Regions from separate parts of the Homo sapiens genome. Here region 2 is linked to region 1. Evidence: promoter capture Hi-C in 16 types of primary human blood cells and fetal thymus (Javierre and others, 2016). All regions are on one chromosome and are shown on one strand. The core of a region is centred on a gene start or on the middle of the fragment in contact, and the rest is flanking DNA. Distances in the headings are between cores, read along the strand shown. Region 1 holds the start of LINC00619 (long intergenic non-protein coding RNA 619). Region 2 overlaps TMEM72-AS1 (TMEM72 antisense RNA 1).

Region 1 (6,055 bases), core at 3,173-5,672:
TTTCTTCCCATTTCTGTCCACGTGGGTCTCTGCACTGTCCCTATCTGTTCACCTTCCTGGTTACTTTGCTGGGAAACTCTCATTTATGCAGCACATAGTAATTTTTACTCCAGTTGCATTTATCTTATTTACATATATTTTTATGGCAGAGGTACTTGCTCTTACTCTCATCCTCTTATGCTCCATTTTATATTTCTTCCAGTGGTTATTTGTATTTTCCACATTTTGCTAAATGGTCTATAGTTTCTTTGCGTTTTCTTTTTTGTCCTAGTAATATGGTAGGCACACAGTCTCTCTCTCTCTCTCTCTCTCTCTCTCTCTCTCTCTCTCTCTCTCTCTCTTTTGAGCCAGAGGCTCACTCTGTTGCCCAGGCTGGAGCACTGTGGCACAATCTCAGCTCACTGCCACCTCTGCCTCCAAAGCTCAAGTAACTCTCCTGCCTCAGCCTCTCGAGTAGCTGGGATTACAGGAGTGCGCCACCACGCCTGGCTAATTTTTGTATTTTTAGTAGAGATGGTTTCACCACGTTGGCTAGGCTGGTCTTGAACTCCTGACCTCAAGAGATCCACGTGCCTCAGCCTCCCAAAGTGCTGGGAATTACAGGCGTGAACCACCGTGCCTGGCCACACAGTCTCTTTTTAGTTCTATGTGGGGCAATGTTACGACAATTATGAAATCCCTTTTGGTGGCTCTGGTGTGTGAGAGAGGGGCTGCAGAGCCTCCTGTTCAGAGCACACTGTCTGGAGGCTGTGCACTTCACAGGCTGGTCAGAGAGGTGGACAACAGGCTGCTCAGAGAGGTGGACAACAGGCTGCTCAATGACCTGTAACAGGACTGTTCACAGGTCAGACAGTGACCCCAAGGCTGGAAACATACCACTTTAGTGTCCAGCAGTGAGCTCCCAGCCCATCCAGCCTCAGCCTGATTGAGCTGCACAGGGGTGAAGGTGTTTCTCTCTAATCCCCCACTGAAGCGTCCAGAACATGCGAATCTCTTAATGGAGGCTGCTGTGGCTAAGCCCCCCGGTGAGGGATGCTTTGGACTAAGAAGACAGCTGTACCCATGGGTGCCACCTGAAACCTTTGCACCACCACTGCTGGTGAGCTCTCAATGCCAGACCTTGGACTCCAGGTAGTGAGGACTGTTCCACGTGTTTTTCAGTGTCCCAGTGTGCCTCCACCCTGCCTAATGTGAGACTGTAACAGCTTTGCATGTGCAGCGCAGGCAGGGAGGATCCTGGGAAACAGGCACTGCCTTGCCACTGCTGTCTTCAGTGCAAACCAGGATATTCCCAGGAGCACAGACTGTATGTGACTATGCCCCTTTCACTGAGCACACTGGCCCGTGGCAGGAGGACTTGCTGCCAAATAATGGCTTGGAGTCCAGGGGACCGTGATCTAGGCCACAGTGGGAGGTGAAGAGGGTGTGAGCTGAGGCGCCAGGTAGGAGGGAGATGGTGCACTCGGGGGCTCCCTGGGGGGTCAGGGGATGGGCAATGGGGCTGGAGGAGTAGGAGGGGCTGGATCTGACCTGAGAAACGCACTTTTGAGAACCCAGATTGGAGAGACAGCATCTGTGATGAGGGGACCATTGTAATACAAGAGGAAAAATGTTGGAATGAATGAAGGCTGTGGAAATGGGCATGTTTTAGAAATCCAAAAGCAAGGAACATGGAAGGATCAGGAAATGGATTGATGGCCAGGCTGGGGGCGGAAATGCCAGGGAACGTGGGAGCTGGTGGTGCCGTTTGCTGCAGAAGGAAGCACGGGGGTTGGGCAGGGCATCGAGAGGGAGGAGTCTGGAGCTAGAGCAGCCTCATGCGAAGGATCAGGACAGGGCAGGTGGGAGCCACAGACCTTGCCACCACTGGGTTCTGGGGCTGCCCCGTGAGTGGTTCCCTGCATATGGTGTGAGAACCGGGGAGGGCAAGAGCCCCAGAGCTGCCAGGGCCCGTCCTCATGGAAAGTGGCTGTGCCAGTGGCTGCCAAGGCCAGAACTTCTTCCAGGAGACACTGCTGAGGAAGACGAACAGAAAGAATGAATTAGTGTAAGAAAAAAAGGAAGAGCAGCAGGAATGAATGGAGGAAAGAAGGAAGGAGGAAGGGGAAGGGACTTGGACTGCTTCTTATGGGCTGGGGGAGCTGTTCGTGTTATATGTCCCACACGTTATCTTATTTACTCCTTGGGGTAATCTGACATTTTTGCCTTCATTTTAAAGATGAGGAAACAGAAGCCTCATGGGGGTAAGCAATGGCTGGGCCAGAATCAAACCCTGGCAATGGGACTTGTGTCTCTTAGCTCCACTGCCTCTAAATGGAGATATGAATGAAACGTTGGGGGATAGGATGGACAGCATGCTCACTTACTGACTGCACGTATAATAACAAGGTGATTGTGTTCTGAGTGGTCCTTCCTGGATTGATCTGTGCTGTCAGAAGTCAGGACAGGGGCTAGCCCTGGAAGATGTGGGGGCCAGACACACAGAAGCCTTCTGTGGCATGAGTCACATGTGTCTCAAGCTGGATGCTGGGGGCTGGGCCTGTGGTAGGGGAAGCTTCTATAATGTAAATCTGGAGTCCTACAGTCACAGCATCTTTGGGTAATTGAGACAAGGGCTGATGCAATCAGTAGAATATTAGAATGTGTCACTGAGTTAATGGACACAGTGTGCCTGGAATGCACATCACCCTAAACCCGGGGATAGATCCACTGCCGTGGGGGTGGAATCTGTTAGAACTCTCCAAGCTCCATGGGGCTCGAACTTCAGTGCCAAAGCGGGATGGGTTTGTGGCTTCAGCTCTCTGGGACACAGCTGCCAGCCTCTCCTTGTCCAGCTGGCTTCTTGAAGGTTGGGATCGGAGGCTCATCCATGCACAAGAGCTTCTGGACACAGATTCTTTGGCTCCAGTCTTTGGTTCAAACAAAAGGCATTTTCGTAAGCCTCTGTCTTCTTGCCCTGCTTTGAGCAAGTTCAGTTCAAATTCTGAGTTGCTTTTGGCTCTGGCCAAATTCTGCTGTTCTTGGAGGTTTGCTTTGTTTCTTTTTGATGCTCTACAAGTCAAAAATTGCAACATACACCAAGGAGAAAACATGTGGCGAAGACAATGAAAAACAGATCCGGGCCTGCCAAAGAAAGAGGTGGAAAGACAGAACCTGTCAGTTCCATACATCGTGCAGTTCTGGGTGCTCCACTCCAGAGCAAATGTGCTGGCCTGTGGATGGAATTCTTCCTGAGTGAGCCCTGCTTTTTAGATCTGGGTTCAATAAAGATAATTCTCTTCATCCAGTGTAATCTTCAAGTGTTCCATGACTTTTTTCCCTCAAGATCTTTCACCTACTTCTTATAAAAGCAACTGAATGTTGATTTAGGTTTGGGCTGGCAATAATGATGAAAAGTTGGTGACTTGGGGCTCTATGTTCAAAAACCATCTGCATCTCACCATTGCGAGGTGGACTTGTGAATTCCTTTTTTAGTCATAAAAAACTCACAGAATTCCATGAAGGGAAGGAGCCAAGGGGCCCACCTCTCACAGAGGCTGCTGTACCAGGCGGGTAGATGATGACATTCTCGAGGGTTTGCAAGTGCTGCCAGTCTGTGAGGCTGAAGGGTGTCCACAGGAGGAGGGGGCCCTGTGTCTGCAGGCTTGTAGTCTCCAGTGAAGCAACTCAGGGAGATCCTGCTCCACATCAGAACAAAGGCTAGAAACAGGAATTTCTGACTCTGAAAATCCGGATTATAATTATAGTGGAGTGATTGAGAATACCAAGAAGTGATTGATTCTCAGGAGGTGGAGGATACACTTTCACAGTTAATACAGCATGACAAAACAAAGCAAAACAAAAACTAACAACCTTGCCCTGTGGGGTAGAAACAACAGAATTATCCTTCCTAACATCCTTAATTTTAAATTATATATCCACATGTATACATATTAGCCCATTTTTTTTTCTCCAGAAGATTGTTAGTTCCCTGAGGGTGAGGCCTCTTTTTCTTTTCCCCCCACTTCTGTTTTCCAGCCATTAGTACAGTTCCTGGAAGATTGTATCTTGACAATTTATGTAGTCATTTATTTATTTGAGTACTATTTATTGAAGGCCTTCTATCCAGTGAACACTGTTCGGAAGAATATCACAGTGAACAGAAGGGACAAGAATTCCTTCCTCCCAAGGCTTACATTTGAAAGGCATGGGAAAAACAAAACAAAAAAAGAAACCAAATAACTAGAAGGGATTGTGGTGTAAAACCTAAATCATAACCAAGGGAGGGGCATGCAGGTCACATTTTAGTTGGCATGGTGGTTACTTAGTCTCTGAGGTCATTAAGTGGCCTGTGGTCTGAGGCAGGTGCAACGTGAGAAATCCAGAGAATCATGAGGGGGTAGGGCAGGCTTAGAAAAGGGAGAATCTGCTGCCAGAGAGGCCAGATGCCATGAGTCCAAAGGAATCATCCCGCCCCCAGCAGACAAGCGTGGAGCCAGCCTGCTCCTCTGGCCAAAGCATTCCACCCCCGGACCTCTCCTCCAGGTACTTCCTGTCCAGACGGGCAGTGGCCCCAGAGCCTGGGAAACCTGCCCCACAGGTGAGGGCAAGGGGTGTGTCTGAAGTGGGTGAGAGGCTGGTATGAGCCTTGGTTGCTGCTCTGGAAACAGGAAGAAGAGATGTGGAAGAAGAGATGTGGGTATGGTGGATTCTGACCCTTGGCTCCCCAAAGTTCCACAGGTATGTGCAGTTTATCGGTCTCATTGATTATTAAGTTCTGTGGGGGAACGGCTCTGTCAACATCGTCCCAGAGACATCTGTTGATGCCTTAGTGTTCCCTGCGGTCAAGGTGCCTGCAGTATGGCGGAGGAGACTCATGCAGAAAATCAGAACTGTATTATCTTAGTGCCAAAACAGAAGTGGGCATTTTGACATTGCAGTGGCAAAAGGAGGACATGGTCAGCTACAGGTGGCTATCTTAGTTTATTAATAGCAAAATATTAAAAAATATTTTAAAAATTATATTTGCCTCCCAGTGGAGGGTCTTGGGTAATTGGGCAACCCAGTGCTAAAGATAGGACTGGGACTTTCATCATAAACCTTTTATACATTTGTGTTTTTTGACATTTAAAAATCAGAATATTTTCAGCTTAAAAAAAAACATAATAAGCTTCCATAGTTCTTAGAACTGGGACTGTCCACATCAGGAATACGTGATTTGCAATGCCAAGAAAGATGTGCTGAATTTATTCGGCAAACTAAAGAGAAAATAAAATTTATTTGAGTATTTAAAAAAACCCAGGAATGAGTGCTATGCATGCCACACACTAGCATGCCAGATAAAACAGATGTGGAGTCAGAAACTGAATGATGTGCCTCTTGACCTTTGATTTGACCTCTTGTGCCTTTGATTTTGTCATGTGTATATATTACTTATTTAAGAATTATTCATGTAATTGTAAAAGTGGATGAGGAAATGATGTAAAAACAGCTACTCCTTGTGGAAGGTTGGCCTTTGTGCTAAGTGCTGTTTGCTCCACCTCATTCCTAGAGCAGGGAGCATTTGCAGAGGCTTGGGAGGGAGTGGACGTGTCCCTGATGCTAAGGGCAGAGGAGGAGCGGGGCCCTCGGGCAGCTGGAAGGGCATCCTGAAAAGACGCCTGCCTGCCGCCGTTCTCCTGGCAGCAGGGCGCGCTGGGAAGCACCAGGCAGGAAGTGAAGAATTTCCGGTTGTCAGCGGAGGGATGGGGCGTCACCAAGTCTGTGGCAAGCACACCAAGAACCAGCTAAGTCCAAGGCTCACCTGCATGGCAAATGGTGAAGGTAAAGTCCAGCTGCCAGCCCAAAGTAGAGCGCTTTTACAGCAAGCTGCTCTCAAATCATTTCCAAAATCAAAGTTGCTGTAGCTGCAGTCAGGGAACTTCAACAGGATGTGGGCCAGGGGTAAGACAGAAGCATATCTTTACCTGGTTCTCCATCTGGGAGATGAGCATCCCGAGGGAGAAGGACAAGACACCTCAGTAAGGACTGGTGCTCAATGTGTCGGGGCGTGGGGGGCGTGGGGGGCGTGGGGGCT
Region 2 (5,616 bases), core at 387-2,886, 1.0 Mb after region 1:
ATTTATTTCATCACAACCTCAGGTACATGACTGCTATGGGCTGAATGTTTGCATCCTCCTGGAGTAGGCATGTTGAAGCCTAACCACGATGTGATGGTATTTGGAGGTGAGGACTCCAGGAGGTGATGAGGTCATGTGCCTGGAGCTCTCATGATGGGATTAGTGCTCCTATAAGAGACCTGAGGGCCAGGTGTGGTGGCTCACGCCTGTAATCCCAGCACTTTGTGGGGCCAAGGCAGGTGGATCAGGAGGTCAGGAGATCAAGACCATCCTGGCTAACATGGTGAAACCACATCTCTACTAAATATACAAAAATTAGCCGGGCGTGGTGGCACAAGCCTGTAGTCCCAGCTAGTCGGGAGGCTGAAGCAGAAGAATCACTTGAACCCAGGAGGCAGAGGTTGCAGTGAACCAAGATCACACCACTGCATTCCAGCCTGGGTGACAGAGCAAGATTCTTGTCTCAAAAAAAAAAAAAAAAAAAAAAAAGAGAGAGAGAGACCTGAGCTAGCTTGCTCCCTACCTCCCTGCTCTCCCTTATGTGAGACCACAGCAAGGTGCCATCCCAAACCTGAAAAGGGCCCCCTACATACCACATCTCCCAGTGCCTTGATCCTGGACTTCCCAGCTCCAGAACTCTGAGAAGTAAATGTCTGCTGTTTAAGCTTCCCAGCCTAGGGTGTATTTGTTACAGCAACTCAAGCTGACTGAGACAGTGACTCACCCTCTAGCCTGTTCTGCAAGAAGGAGAATCAGGAGTTATGTAGCAGGAACACAAGGGAATAAAATCCTCAATATTCAGTTCTTCAACTTCCAAGCTGGGTCTTGAAATTCAAATATTAAACAACAGAGAGAAAAGTCAAAACTTGGAATTTACCAGAGCCAAGTTGTGGTAAAACAATTTGGAATTCTAAAGGTAAAGCCCCAGGGAAGTGGGGACTACTTTTTCTTTCACAGATTAGAAAGAGAAAAGAGGGTTGGGGAGAAGAGATGAGTGTCAGTTGCTAGAACTGGGAGAAGTGGGGAGGCTGGGGCCTGAGGCCACGCAGAGAGAAGGGTCGTCACTGAAGGACTCCCCAGGCCCTTCCATCCCAGCGCCCTGAGCCACTAAATCAATCGCCTTTTGTGAGTGGCCTTGCAGGTCTCCTGTGTGGGAAGCCAAGTGAGCTGAGGCTGTCACAGCCATCAAGTGAGGTCCACGCAGACATCGTTCTCTGTGTGCTGCACAGGGACCAACCCGCAGATGTGACTCCCCCCAGTACCCATCCACACAATGCCATCTACCAAGCACCACTTCCAACTCTCACAGATGCCTTGGGACAGAGGCTGCTGTCTCTAACACCTAGAGGGACTGTTCTTGCAGTGTCTGTGTCGCAGGTACTGGACAACTTAACATGAGTGTGACTTAGTCCCATCACTGTCATCACCATACTTCGTTTTATGGGTGAGCAACAAGACCCTAACCTTCGTGACTTCCACTTGGTATGGAGCTTAGAGGAAAGTGACAGGGATGAAGGTCTCTCCTGTCCAGCCCCACCATCTTCAGGAATTGGGGGCTTTCCCTCTAGCCCGCCTTTGCCCCTCTAAGTGATTGACACACTGCACTTGCCTTCCCATCCAGGGGACCCCGCTGGGCCAGGTGCCATTGTCTGCTGTGACCCTCCCCGTGTGTGTGTGTGTATGTGTGTGTGTGTGTGTGCAGGGTGTGTGTGTGTGTGTGAGCATGTAGCTGTAAATAGTACTTTCCTGATTTAAAAATGCCAGGAAAATCCCAAAACACAGAGATTTAATGTCCGTTTATTCCCTTGGGGCAATGTTGCCTCCACTAAAATGGTAAAGAAAAAAATGAATGATAGAAAGAACTCATTGTGTCAGAGGGGTACTCGCATGTTTGCATTTTTACCCTCTATTCTTTGCCACAGTAGGAACTTGCTTTTTTCTGAGTGTACACACAAACACACACACACACACACACACACACACATACTCAGTGCTGTACTAGGCTCCTGCTGACTGTCCTATCATAGTGTTTCCTACAGAACCATCTCACGTCTCTCTGGGCTGATTGTCTTCTACAATCAATAAATGGTTCAAAGACTCACAAATTCTGTAGATGGGCCTTTGAAGAGGGCTGCACAGTCTCCCAGCTGACCTCAGGATGAGCTTCAGGCCATGTGAATGAGAAAGTGCACAGAGGCCCCTGCAGGGACCCTGGTGCCTGACGCTTCCCCCAGAGCCAGGCTGCCCAGGTCCCAGCCTTGTAGCTCACAAGCTGTGCGACCTTGGGCAGGTGCCTTTCTCTTTCTGAATCTCAGTTTCTTCCTTGGTAACTGGAGATGATATTAAATAGCACCTGCCTCCTAGAGTTGGCGTGGGATTAAACAGTTAGAACCAGAACAGTGTTTACAGCAGCACCTTTGGTATAGCAGGGCAGGAGCTCCAGATCTTGGTCCTGAAGGCTCAGGCCCTGGGGCCTGGAGACTAAAGCAGCATTCAGAGCTTTATGACCACAAGTAGCTACGCTCCCGCCTGAGCCTGTTGTCTGGGCCTTTGGTGTCTCTGTGGTTATGTCCCTCGGTCCTGATTCCTTTTTTAGGTTTCCAAGAGGAAGCTTCTTGTTGAGCCTGTGAACCCTGACCTTGGACCCCTGCTCATCTGGCCCACCCGGACGCCACGCCTGCTCTGTTTGGGGGTTCTCTCCCATCCCCACCCTTGCTTGGCAGCTGCTCCCATCAGACAGGTCCTCCTGTTCATCCCCAGACTGGGAGTGCAAACCCTGCTCAGGGCTCCTGTGGCCACAGGCACCCCCAAGGCAGAGAAGGAAGCCAGGAAGGAGAAGGCTCTGCAAACTCCTGGAAACAGTTAAGAGATGAAGAAAATTACACCACTTGAACTCTACTGGCCAGAGTCCTGGGAAAGGCAAACTCTCCTTGGGCCAAAGTGGAGGGAACCACCCCACCCCTCCACAGGCATCATGAACATGGCCCATTGGAATGCGCTGAGATTCACAATGACTTGATAAGGATCTGGGGGCTGAAAGCTCAGCAGGATGACTCTGAGCTGGACCCAGCCCCACCCTGGCGGTCCCTGCCACACAGCAGTCAGTTTGGAGCCACGTGGCTGCCATTCCTGGTGACTTCCCAAAGCTACTGCAACTTTTTAAAAAGATAAGCACATTTCCATGGTGTTTTTAACATCCTTTAATGGTTTTCAGCTTTCTTTTCAATATATAATTACTGAAAAAATCACTATGAATAATAACCAGAAACCACCAAAACCTACATGCAAAGTAGTATGCTAAAAACTTTACTCATTATCTTGTCTAATGTTTCATAATCTGCATGAAGCAGGTAGTACTGTCATCCCCACTTTACAGAGGAGGAAACTGAGGCCTAGAAACAGGCACACAGCCAGTAAGTGGCAGAGGCAAGACAGGAGCCCAGCTCCTTCTCCACCAACTATTTTGCTGGATCATCGTCATCATCAGCATTTTCTGGTGCCTGCTACACCATCCTCTGCTTCTCAGGGACATGTCTGAAGCCACAGAATCACTGTCCCTGCCGGAGGCCAGATTAGATTCAGCCCGTGCGTAGCTCACATTCTAGGGTGTCAGAGGGAGTGTCTTTCTCCGTCCTGCAGCCACAGCCATCAGCAGCACTCTCTCTCTGGCCTCCCAGGGCTTCCTCTAAGAAGCCCCCACGGGCACTGCAGGTGGCTGGCCTCCAGGAGCACACAGCTCTCGGAGTTCCAGGTGTTCCCCTGAGAGCAACCTGCTTGGGCACTGCAGGCTGCTGGGGTTGCCGGTGATGACTTCCTTTCCATTTCTGTTCTCGATGTCGTGAGGCAGTCTTCCTGATCTCTGCTCCCCAACTCCCTCCCATGGTTGAGAAGGCCCTGGCTCTCCATATTAAATCTCTCTCTACTTGAAATAGCTGGAGCACTTCTGCTTTCCCACGAACCCTGACCAAAGCCTCCCAGCCCCAGCTACAGCTGACAGGCTCAAGAGCACCACAGGCTCTCAAGGCTGGCCTGGCTCCTCCACACACAACCCCTGCAGATCTCTACTCACTCCAGACTCCCCCTGCCTCTGGCCAAGGCCCTGCCTTCCTGCCTTCAAGCTGGGCGCCCATTTCTCCAGGAAGGCTTTTGTGACCGGGCTTCATGTCCCTTGCACCCTGTGTATTGATCTTCCTGCTTGATGCCAAGCCCTATGAACACAGCAATTCTATCTGGCTTTGTACACTATTGTACCCAGCACAGGGTCTAAAAATACTTTTTGCATAAATGAATGAGTAAATGAAAAATTATTGAGTAGTCTTTGAGATCCTGATGCCATGAGTATAGAGAAAGAGAATATATGCATCTTAAATCCATTAAAGTTTGATTTAAAATGCACATTGGCACTGGCTGAAAGCTGGGTGGGCTCCATGGGGTACAAAGACAAGCCCACCAGGAGCCGAGAGTTGAGGAGTATGAACAGGCACAGGTCTCCGTGCAGCTGCAGTATGTTACAGCTTCTGGTGACTTCTGCCACCCTTTGTCCCTCTAGGGTCTGTGTTCCTGCCAAGAGAAAAGGCAGTGGCAGGAAGGAGGCTGCTCCAGATGTCAGAAAGGCTTAGCGAATGGTTTACTGTAGTTCACGAAATTTCTACAAGAGTAACCAATTGGCATCAGCTCCCTGAGCTGCCTGCTTAGAGAAGGAGCTTATGGCACTAAACCATTTTTGTATATTCCATCAAGATCTAGGAAAGCAGATTTCCTTTTTCAAAAAGCAGAGAAACTGTCCCACCCTGCAGTCATTGTGAGTGCAGAGGGACGGGGAGCCAGCGATCCATGAATTGCCAAGCCAGATTGCAGCTATAACCAGATTTTAGTTTGTGAAGGTCTTTTACAGACCTTTTTATACCCTATCCAGTGAGTATGAGTTAGGCTGGAGAGCAAAGGAATTGGAGCTTTTCCACACCACACACGGTTTGCGGTTGGCCCCCACCAGGTGGCTCCCCTGGCGGAGGACTCTGCGCTGCCTGCACCTGAGCGTAGCTGGGGCTTGCGGTGTGCGTCAAAGTGGCTGCGGAGTTCTTGTCTATAGAAACTGTTCAAAGTAACCACCTGAATTACTCCTACCATACTCTTTCTTTGACCTTTTATTTCTTTTAAGCATAACGTCAGCACTGATTTGAAATCATCAAGTAACTTCAACCAACGTAAAAATCCTGAGTTGCTTAAAAAGGAAAGAAAGGCTGCCCCCAAAGTGACAGGCTTTCTAACTTGCCTGTGTCTTTGCACCTATTTCCCTAGGACGCGGGAACGCCCCTTTCCCACACCCACTTCATTCTCCTCCCTGTGCCTCACGTTCTGGGAACATCCTCCTCTTGACTGCATTTCTTAGCCTCCCCGGGCTAGGGAAAGTGTGGTCTCCCTTTCAGCAACCTCAGTTCCATATACATTTCTTTCTCTCAGAATGTCTGATGCTATACTGCATTTATTGGTTTTCTTGTTTCTCTCCCTAGTAAACAGGACATTTTTTGAAGTCCTGCTGGCACATATGCAGTCCTCACACAACGCCTGGTGGATGATTGATTCATTTTAAGAGAGCAGATGAGCTAGGCTGTCTAC

Evidence for each region. The method cuts DNA at HindIII sites, captures the fragments that hold promoters and counts their contacts. A CHiCAGO score of 5 or more calls a contact.
Region 2: a contact is called between a fragment that was not itself captured here and the fragment with the promoter of LINC00619 in region 1, in 2 of 17 cell types (endothelial precursors and fetal thymus). The highest score is 5.8, in endothelial precursors.

What each region holds. Positions count from the first base shown.
Region 1 is chr10:43,840,884-43,846,938 of GRCh38, forward strand. LINC00619 (long intergenic non-protein coding RNA 619) reads left to right here and starts at 4,423. Exons shown (of 3, transcript NR_033923.1): 1 at 4,423-4,524; 2 at 4,650-4,719. RefSeq lists an enhancer at 1,433-1,602 and a cis regulatory region at 1,518. The HindIII fragment of the contact is 2,595 bases long and covers 2,553-5,147 here.
Region 2 is chr10:44,858,512-44,864,127 of GRCh38, forward strand. The region is part of intron 2 of TMEM72-AS1 (TMEM72 antisense RNA 1); the gene reads right to left. Among named protein-coding and RNA genes, the nearest start is that of TMEM72, 50 kb to the right of the region's middle. The HindIII fragment of the contact is 1,946 bases long and covers 664-2,609 here.